2 separate regions of the Homo sapiens genome follow, and region 1 is linked to region 2. Evidence: promoter capture Hi-C in human tissues and cell types (Jung and others, 2019). All regions are on one chromosome and are shown on one strand. The core of a region is centred on a gene start or on the middle of the fragment in contact, and the rest is flanking DNA. Distances in the headings are between cores, read along the strand shown.

Evidence for each region. The method cuts DNA at HindIII sites, captures the fragments that hold promoters and counts their contacts. A contact is called where the count stands out against the background at its distance.
Region 1: a contact is called between the fragment with the promoter of CREB3L3 here and the fragment with the promoter of GNA11 in region 2, in 1 of the 25 tissues and cell types used here (hippocampus).

The regions. Positions count from the first base shown.
Region 1 is chr19:4,150,582-4,155,803 of GRCh38, forward strand. It overlaps CREB3L3 (cAMP responsive element binding protein 3 like 3), which reads left to right and starts at 3,050. Exons shown (of 10, transcript NM_032607.3): 1 at 3,050-3,193; 2 at 4,318-4,446. The coding sequence starts at 3,167. The HindIII fragment of the contact is 37,156 bases long and covers 1-5,222 here.
Region 2 is chr19:3,091,257-3,096,279 of GRCh38, forward strand. GNA11 (G protein subunit alpha 11) reads left to right here and starts at 3,106. Exons shown (of 7, transcript NM_002067.5): 1 at 3,106-3,531. The coding sequence starts at 3,396. RefSeq lists silencers at 2,775-3,024, 3,045-3,164, 3,485-3,614, 4,769-4,858 and enhancers at 2,911-3,898, 3,899-4,884, 4,885-5,023. The HindIII fragment of the contact is 21,058 bases long and covers 1-5,023 here.

The sequences.
Region 1 (5,222 bases), core at 1,800-4,299, 1.1 Mb after region 2:
AGGCTGCAGTGAGTTTTTTTTTTTTTTTTTGAGATGGAGTCTCGCTCTGTCACCCAGGTTGGAGAACAGTGGCACCGATCTCGGCTCACTGCAAGCTCCGCCTCCCAGGTTCACGCCATTCTCCTGCCTCAGCCTCCCGAGTAGCTGGGACTACAGGCGCCCACCGCCACGCCCGGCTAATTTTTTTTTTCGTATCTTTAATGGAGACAGGGTTTCACCGTGTTAGCCAGGATGGTCTCAATCTCCTGACCTCGTGATCCACCCACCTCGGCCTCCCAAAGTGCTGGGATTCCAGGCATGAGCCACTGTGCCCGGCCTGCTGCAATGAGTTTTGATCACAGCACTGCACTCCAGTCTGCCCTAGTGGAGGGCAAGTGCAGTAATGTGAGTTAGTGTTGGATAAAAGAACCATATCGTGTGTGGCATATGGTAGCCCCTTATTGAATTTTGATTTCATGAATACATATGAGTGATCCATTGAAAAATATAAACCAGGCCGGGCGTGGTGGCTCATGCCTGTAATCCCAGCACTTTGTGAGGCCAAGGCGGGTGAATCACTTGAATTCAGGAGTTCAAGACCAGCCTGGCCAACATGGTGAAACCCCATCTCCACCAAAAATACAAAAATTAGCTGGGTGTGGTGGTGGGAGCCTGTAATGCCAGCTACTCAGGAGGCTGAGGCAGGAGAATCGCCTGAACCTGGGAAGTGGAGGTTGCAGTGAGCTGAGATTGTGCTACTGCACTCCAGCCTGGGCGACAGAGCGAGACTCTGTCTTGAGAAAGAAAGAAAGAAAGAGAGAAAGAAAGATAGAGAGAGAAAAGAGAAAAAAAGAGAGAGGAAAGAAGGAAGGAAGGAGGGAGGGAGGGAGGGAGAGAAGGAAGGAAGGAAGGAAGGAAAGGAAGGAAGGAAGGGGAAGGGAACCAGGATGTGAATTTTTTTAGAGCAAGGAGGGCACATAAATTACCCCTCTCAACCTAGCACATGGCACAGTGTCCAGCAAACAGAAAGCTTGATTTAGTCTCCTATTTGCTAAACTTCCAACAGTGCCCTGCTGTTTAGCACAAACCAAACTCCTTGCCACAACACACAGGGCTTTGCACGACCTGCCCCGTCCCCTCCCTGCCTTCCCCTCCTCCCTGCCTTCCCCTCCTCCCTGTCTTCCTCTCCTGCCTGTCTTCCTCTCCTCACTCTGCTCCAGCCACAGGGGTCTCATTGCTGTTCCTCCAATGCGCTAGGCACGGACCTGCCTCAGGGCCTTTGCACAAACTGTGCCTCTGCCTGGGACACCTTTCCCCAGACCTTCCCAGGGCCAGTTCCATCTCATCCTTCAGGACTGCACTGAACATGTCATTTTTTTTTTTTTTGAGACAGAGTCTCACTGTCGCCCAGGTTGGAGTGCAGTGGTGTGATCTCAGCTCACTGCAACCTCCGCCTCCTGGGTTCAAGTGATTCTCCTGCTTCGGCCTCCCGAGTACTGGTATTGCAGGCATGTGCTACCACACCCATCTAATTTTTATATTTTTAGTACAGATGGGGTTTCACCATGTTGGCCAGGTTGGTCTCAAACTCTTGACCTCAGGTGATCCACCCACCTCGGCCTCCCAAAGTGCTGGCATTACAGATGTGAGCCACCACGCTTGGTCTAATATGTCATCTGCTAAAGGGGGACTTTGCCTGGGCACAGTGGCTCATGCCTGTAAATCCAGCACTTTGGGAGGCTGAAGCAGGTGGATCATTTGAGCCCAGGAGTTTGAGACCATACTGGCCAACACAGTAAGACCCCATCTCTATAAAAAAAAAAAAACAAAATTAGCCAGGTGTGGTGGTGCACGCCTGCAGTCCTAGCTACTTGGGAGGCTGAGACGGGAGGATCACTTGAACCCAGGAGTTGGAGGCTGCAGTGAGCTATGATCCTGCCACTGCACTCCAGCCTGGGCAATAGAGTGAGACCCTGTCCTCCACCAACACCAAAAAAAAAAACAAAAAAACAAAACAGGGCTCCTCTCTCTTGGTAGGGGGTGGAGGGGAGGTCAGAGACACCTCTCAGCCACCCGGGCTGATTCACAAATATCGAACATTCACTAAAATGTCAATACAGTGACCTAGAGCCAGAGGGGAAGAGGGAGGGTACAAGAGGAGAGTTCCAGGCAGAGGGGCGAGCAGGTGAGTAGGTGCAAAGGCCCTAAGCAGGAACCAGTTTGGCTCCATAAATATTTGTTGACTCAATGAACGATAGAAGATTCTAGAGAGAATTGATTGCACAGAATCACCCATGGGGACTCAGAGGCGGAGTCCAAGCTGGTTTCGGAGGGGGCTGGGGGCCGGAGGTTGGCAGGTGGGGTGAAGGATGGGAGCCGCTAGCTGCTGGCAGGAAAACTGGCTTCAGTGAAGATCTGGTCTGGTCCTCTTGGTTTGTTTCTGTCCAGGGAGTGGACAGGACCCATGTAAGGGCCCTGGGCTATCCCAGAACCCATCTGGGAATTCTGAAGAGAAAAAGTCCTGTAACTGGCCGGGTGCGGTGGCTCACGCCTGTAATCCCCGCACTTTGGGAGACTGAGGGGCCGATCACGAGGTCAGGAGTTCGAGACCAGCCTGGAAAACATGATGAAACCTCGTCTCTACTAAAAATACAAAAGTTAGCCGGGCATGGTGATGGGGACCTGTAGTCCCAGCTACTCGGGAGGCTGAGGCAGGAGAATCACTTGAACCCAAGAGGCAGAGGTTGCAGTGAGCCGAAATGAGATGGCACCACTGCACTCCAGCTTGGGCCACAGAGCGAGACTCCGTCTCAAAAAAGAAAGAAAAAAAGAAAAAGTCCTCATAAGTAGGGCAGAGGTCACGGCAGAGTGGAGGTACCCCAGACTTCGACCTTTGCTCACTGAGGGCTGGAAAACCACAAAACACCCAGATAACGGTCTTCCCTCCCCTGCTCCTGCCTGCCCCAGTGTCACTGGCCCTCAACCCTGTCTCTCCACCCTGTCCACCAATCAGCACCTGGAGGTGGGCTGGGAGCTGCCTGTGACCGCTTCAGCATCTTTTGGGAGTGGTGACAGAGCCACAGAGGGCTGTGAGCTTGCCCGGCCCCAGGTAACGCTGGCGGTGGGTGGGCCTCCAGCTTGGAGCAGAGACCCCCCGAGGCATCTGCAGACAGAACTGGATGGACCCATGAATACGGATTTAGCTGCTGGAAAGGTGAGCCCTACTAGGTCCCCAGGGAGAGCGGGAGTCTAGGCTGGGAAAGCCTACCCAAGCTGCCAGAGCTGGAAGGACCCCATCTCCACCCCTATTGTACAGATGGGAAGACTGAGGCCCAGAGAAAGGATGCAATGAGCAAAACTGTGTGCCTTTGCCCCGGGGCTGCCCTTGTCTTTCTTCCAGGTCCCCCTGCCTCCTAGGAGCGGGCACTTGGGGAGGCTGTGAAGGCCTGAGAGGCAAGCGGCATCTCTAGCTAGGGCCTCTCTCCAGCACTTTTTATTTTATTTTATTTTATTTTTATTTTTATTTTTTGAGATGGAGTCTCCCTCTGTCACCCAGGCTAGAGTGCAATGGCACGATCTCAGCTCACTGCAACTTCCACCTCCTGGGTTCAAGAGATCTTCCTGCCTCAGCCTCCCAAGTAGTTGGGATTACAGGTGTGCACCACCACGCCCGGCTAATTTTTGTACTTTTCCTAGAGACAGGGTTTCACCATGTTGGCTAGGCTGGTCTCAAACTCCTGACTTCAGGTGAGCTGCCCGCCTCGGCTTCCCAGAGTGCTGGGATTACAGATGTGAGCCACCGTGCCTGCCATACTTTTTTGTTTTTTGAAACAAGGTCTTGCTCTGTGACCCAGGGTGGAGTGCAGTGGGGTGGCCATAGCTCACTGCAGCCTCAACCTCCTGGGTTCAAGGGATCCTCCTACCTCAGCCTCCCCAGTAGCTGGGACGACAAGTGTGTGCCACCGCAGCCAGCTAATTTTTTTAAATTATTTGCAGTAGGGATAGGGGTCTCTATGTTGCGCAGGCTGGTCTTGAACTCCTGGGCTCAAGTGATCCTCCTGCCCCGGCCTCCCAAAGTGCTGAGATTACAGGCATGAGCCACCACATCCAGCCTCTCCAGCACTTTAAGAGAAATTGGCTCTCACACTGTGGAATTCTCTCTATCAGCCTCAAAGTCCAGATTTGGAAAGGGAGTCTCAGCGAGGGGCAGCAGCTGGCCCAACCCGGAGGCAGAGCGGCAACTGAACTCTAGCCGGAAAGAGCCAGGGTTATGTGCACATGGGAGGTGGGGAGGACAGGGGCTGTATGTGACCCTCACATCTGTTCCTCGCGCCCCAGATGGCTTCTGCTGCCTGCTCCATGGACCCCATCGACAGCTTTGAGCTCCTGGATCTCCTGTTTGACCGGCAGGACGGCATCCTGAGACACGTGGAGCTGGGCGAGGGCTGGGGTCACGTCAAGGACCAGGTGAGGAGTCCACTGCAGTTGCCCCGGGACCACAGAGCTCCAGGCGGGCCAACTGAGGCCCCACGAAGGTGCTAGACCCGCCAGAGCCCAGCCAGAGCTCTGCTCAGCTCTACGATGCACTAATGGGTCACGGTGCTTGATTTTAGCCAAGCACATCATTTAGCGGGTAGCATCAGCTCCTTCTTACAGGTGGGGAATGGAGGCCCAGAGCAGGGTGGAAACTCATCCAAAGTCACACAGCAATTTGGAGTTAGGTTCAAACTCAAACTTGGGGCATCTCCCTGGCTAGGTTCGGTTCTCTTCTCCTTCCTCTCCTTCCTTTCTCTCTTTCTTCTTCTTTTTTTTTTTTTTGAAGGAGTCTCGCTCTGTTGCCCAGGCTGGAGTGCAGTGGTGCCATCTCGGCTCACTGCAACCTCTGCCTCCCGGGTTCAAGCGATTCTCTTGCCTCAGCCTCCCAAGTAGCTGGGATTACAGGCGCCCGCCACTGCACCTGGCTAATTTTTGTATTTTTAGTAGAGATGGGTTTCACTATCCTGGCCAGGCTGGTCTTGAACTCCTGACCTTGTGATCCACCCACCTCAGCCTCCCAAAGTGCTGAGATTACAGGCGTGTGCCACCGCGCCCGGCCCACTTTCTTTTTTTTCTTTCTTTTCTCTCTCTTTTTCTCTTTCCTTCCTTCCTTCCTTCCTTTTTTCCTTCCTTTCTCCCTCTTTCTTTTACTCTCTTTTTTTTTTTTTGAGATAGAGTTTCACTCTTGTCACCCAGGCTGGAGCGCA
Region 2 (5,023 bases), core at 1,856-4,355:
ACAGAGCAAGACTCCGTCTCAAAAAAAAAAAAAGTAAAAGCCATTCGAAGCTTATGGACCATAGGGCCGAGGGTTGTGGATTGCCAATCTTTGTTCTAGGTGAACCAGACAGGCTCTGACCTCATGGAGCTGATGGCCAATTTGGGAAACTGAGTCTACAGAGAGGCACCCAGAAGAATATATAATTTCTTTCTTTTTTTTTTTTGGAGATGGAGTTTCACGCTTGTCGCCCAGGCTGGAGTGCAGTGGTGTGGTCTCGGCTCACTGCAACGTCCACCTCCTGGGTTCAAGAGATTCTGCTGCCTCAGCCTCCCGAGTAGCTGGGATTACAGGTGTCCACTAATTTTTTTGTATTTTTAATAGAGACAGGGTTTTGCCATGTTAGCCAGGCTGGTCTCAAACTGCTGACCTCAAGTGATCTGCCTGCCTTGGCCTTCCAAAGTGCTGGGATTACAGGCATGAGCCACCACACCCTGCTTTTTTGTTTTTTTTTTTTTTTGGACGGAGTTTCTCTCTTGTTGCCCAGGCTGGAGTGCAATGGTGCGATCTCAGCTCACTGCAACCTCCGCCTCCCGGGTTCAAGAGGTTCTCCTGCCTCAGTCTCCCAAGTAGCTGGGATTACAGGCATGAGCCACCGTGCCTGGCTAATTCTGTATTTTCAGTAGAGACGGGGTTTCTCCATGGTGGTCAGGCTGGTCTTGAACTCCCGATCTCAGGTGATCTGCCCACCTCGGCCTCCCAAAGTGCTGGGATTACAGGCATAAACCACCACACCCGGCCTTTTTTTTTTTTTTTTTTTGAGACGGAGTCTCGTTCTGTTGCCCTGGCTGGAATGCAGTGGTATGATCCCAGCTCCCTGCAACCTCTGCCTCCCGGGTTCAAGCGATTCTCCTGCCTCAGCAAAAGTAGCTGAGACCACAGGTGCCCGCCACCACGCCCGGGTCATTTTTGTATTTTTAGTAGAGAGGGGGTTTCACCATGTTGGCCACTCTGGTGTTTTGTTTTGTTTTGTTTTGATACAGGGTCTCACTCTTGTGTCCCAGGCTGGAGTGCAGTAGCCCCATCTCCGCTCACTGCAACATCTGCCTCCTGGGCTCAAGTGATCCTCTCAGCCTCCCGAGTAGCTGGGATTACAGGCATGTGCCACCACACCCATCTAATTTTTTGTATTTTTAGTAGAGATGGGGTTTCGCCATGTTATCTAGGCTGGTCTCGAACTCCTGAGCTCAAGCGGTCCACCTGCCTTGGCCTCCCAAGTACTGGGATTACCGGCAGGAGCTGCCGCACCTGGCCAGAACATACAATTTCAAGTTGTGGCTCAAGAGAAGGTACCTGGCTTGGTCTGAGGAGTCAGGAGAAGTCTCCCTGAGGAGCTGACGTCTGAATTGAAACGGAGAGGATGCTCAGGGGTTGGCCAAGGAGGCCAGAGAGGGAAAAGGGTTTTCAGTAGTCAGCAAGGTGGTGGGAACACACGTTTTTATAAATTCTGGTGGCCACTTCCATTTCATCTGCAAAGTAAGGATAAAGATATGGCTGGGTGAGGTGGCTCACATCTATAATCCCAGCGCTTTGGGAGGCCGAGGAGGGCAGATCACTAGAGGCCAGGAGTTTGAGACCAGCCTGGCCAACGTGGCGAAACCCGCTCTCTACTAAAAATACAAAATTAGCCAGGCATGGTGGCGCGCCTGTAATCCCAGCTACTTGGGAGGGTGAGGCAGGAGAATCACTAGAGCCTGTGAGGCAGAGGGTGCAATGAACCTAGATCACGCCCCTGCACTCCAGCCTGGGCGACAGAGCAAGACTCCATCTCAAAAAAAGAAGAAGAAAAAAAAGATATCCCTTGGGTAGGGTTAGCTTAACGGGCTTACAGCAGTGCCTGGTATCCTGTAGGCATTTCATGAATGCGTATACCTGGCCTGGAATGGTGCAGGCACTGCAGTAAGGCCTGATTGACACCTGATGGACAGCAGGCACTCCATTAATCTCTGGTCCGTGCCTGGCATATAGAATGTGTCCCATTAATGCCTGATACACAGTAGGTGTCCCATTAACGCTTTTTAATTTTTTTTTTTGAGACAGAGTCTCGCTCTGTCGCCCAGGCTGGAGTGCAGTGGCATGATCTCAGCTCACTGCAAGTTCCGTCTCCCGGGTTCACGCCATTCTCCTGCCTCAGCCTCCCGAGTAGCTGGGACTACAGGCGCCCGCCACCACGCCCGGCTAATTTTTTGTATTTTTAGTAGAGACGGGGTTTCACCGTGTCAGCCAGGATAGTCTCGATCTCCTGACCTCGTGATCCACCCGCCTCGGCCTCCCAAAGTGCTGGGATTACAGGCGTGAGCCACCGCGCCCGGCCCTCTTTTTTTTTTTTTTTCTTTGGAGACGGAGTTTCGTTCTTGTTGCCCAGGCTGGAGTGCAATGGCGTGATCTCGGCTCACTGCAACCTCCGCCTCCTGGGTTCAAGTGATTCTCCTGCCTCAGCCTCCCGAGTAGCTGGGATTACGGGCGTGCACCACCACGCCGGGCTAATTTTGTAGTTTTAGTAGAGACGGCGTTTCTCCCTGTTGGTCAGGCTGGTCTCGAACTCCAGACCTCAGGTGATCCGCCCGCCTCGGCCTTCCAAAGTGCTGGGATTACAGGCGTGAGCCACCGCGCCCGACCTCCATTAACGCTTTTTAATGGATGAGTGAAGGTTCCTGTCAGGCAATGTCAGGGCGCTTCCCGGGGGCAGCGACTGCTGCCCAGGCACCTGGAGACCCAGAGAGCGCAGCGGCCGCGTGCGCGCCTCCGCCACCGCGCCTGGGCCGAGCCGAGCGGGACCGAGCGGGGCCGAACGGAGCCGAGCGGAGCCGAGCCTGGCCGGGCCGAGTCCGCCACATTCCCACAATCCCGGGCGGCCCCGCCCCGGCTCCCGGCTGCGCGTCCCCCTTCCCACGTCGGCGCAACCAAACCCGCGGGCCCCCCGCCCTCGCCCCGCCCCGCCCCTTTCGCGCCCGCCGACGCCCCGCCCAGGCCGCTAGTCCCGCCCCCATGGTGGGCGCGCTTGGCCGCCGGCCCCTCCCATTGGCCGCACCGTCTGCCCGTCGCGGGCTGCGCTCCCAGCCTGCTAGGTTGTCCGGCGCTGTCGCTCGGTTGCGGCGGCTGCGGTTGGCGGTGGCTGCGGCGGCGGCGCGGGCTGAGTGCGGCCGCGCGGGAGTCCGCGGCTGGCGCGGCCCGAGCGGGGACCCGGCGGCTCGCCAGGCGGCGGCCGAGGCGGGGCGGGCCGGCCCGGGGCCGAGGGCCGGTGGCCGAGGCCGGAGGGCCGCGGCGGGCGGCGGCCGAGGCGGCTCCGGCCAGGGCCGGGCCGGGGGCCGGGGGGCGGCGGCGGGCAGGCGGCCGCGTCGGCCGGGGCCGGGACGATGACTCTGGAGTCCATGATGGCGTGTTGCCTGAGCGATGAGGTGAAGGAGTCCAAGCGGATCAACGCCGAGATCGAGAAGCAGCTGCGGCGGGACAAGCGCGACGCCCGGCGCGAGCTCAAGCTGCTGCTGCTCGGTGAGTGCGGCCCCCGGGCCTGCCGGCTGCGGGCCCTGCCCTGCCTGTGCCTGCCCTGCCTGTCCGGGTCGGGCCGGGACCCTCCGGGGTCAGCCCTGCCTGTGCCGTCCGGGTCGCGAGACCCTCCGGGGTCAGCCCTGCCTGTGCCTTCCCTGCCTGTCCGGGTCGCGGGACCCTCGAGTGTCAGCCCTGCCTGTGCCTTCACTGCCTGTCCGGGTCGGGGCGGGGCCCTCCGGGATCAGCCCTGCCTGTGTCGTCTGGGTCGGCTCGGGACCCTCTGGGGTCAGCCCTGCCTTTGCTGTCTAGGTCGGCACCTGGGACCCTCCGGGGTCAGCTGCGGGCCCCTGATTTCTTTGGGGTCAGCCCCTGCCTTAACTGTTCATGTTGGCACCTGGGACTCTCCGGTGTCAGCCTGTGTCTGTCCTGTCTGGATCAGGCCCCCGATCACTCCTAGGTCAGCTCCCAGCTTCTGCTGTCTACATTGGGCCTCCAGGACTCTTCAGGATTTGCCCTCTGTTCCTTCTCAAGGGACCAGTCCCTCCCTGCACAGGGACCTTCTGACCTTACCCCACCGGAGTACCCACCCCTCGCTACCCCTTCAGGGCCAGACCTTTGGGCTGTAACCCACAGGGCACACTCACCCCTCACTGCTCAGGGCCCCGCGTTGACCCTTCCCTCCAGGCAGAGCCCTGTACACTCCATGCAGGCCCTGTACCCTCCATGCAGGCCCTGTACACCCCCCCATCCCCCCGAAGACTCCTCCGTGTCCCCTATCCCCACATTCCCTTCAGGGCCATTCTCCTGCCTTCCTGTTCCGGGAAACCCCGTACTCCTCTTGGCTGGAATGCACCCTGTGGGAAAAAGACAGTCTTTCCTCTCCTCAGGGTTCCGCTCAGCTGAGGGTGGGGCGGTTGACACCTGAGGGAGCCTTTGCTTGTTGTCCCAAGCAGCTATCTCGGCAGCCTCCCCCGCCCCCTTCCTTAGAGTCCTGGTGGGAGCCACGCTGAGTCCTCGTTGAGAGCAGCCCCCCACCTGCCGGCTCCTCCCCACCGTCCTGGAGAAGGTTTGCTGGTGAACCTCCTTCTCCCCAAGGCACACCTGCTGCAGGGAGCCAGTCGGGCCAGCTGTAAAGTGTTGTCACTCCAAATAAGGGCCCCTTCAGTGGTTTACAAAACAGAAGCTCTTGCCCTGCCCCGCCCCTGCCCTCCCGAGCTCCTAGGTTAGCTCCTGGGCCGGGGGCGGGGCGGTGGGGAAGGTCGGAAATGCGTGAGAGGCAGCGGTGACGGAGGAGGGGGCGTGCTGGTGGCGGTGGCTCTTGGGGAGGAGGCAGGTCGCATGTTGTGTGGGGAACACGTTGCCTCTCCTGCCGTGAGCCTCTTAGGGCCCTCCGTGTCCCGGGTTACAGAGGTGCCTTGGATGAAACGCCTTCCTGATTTTTTTCCCCAAACTTGTGTTTTGATTTACCTAAGGGTTCTAAAATGGGCCATCTTTC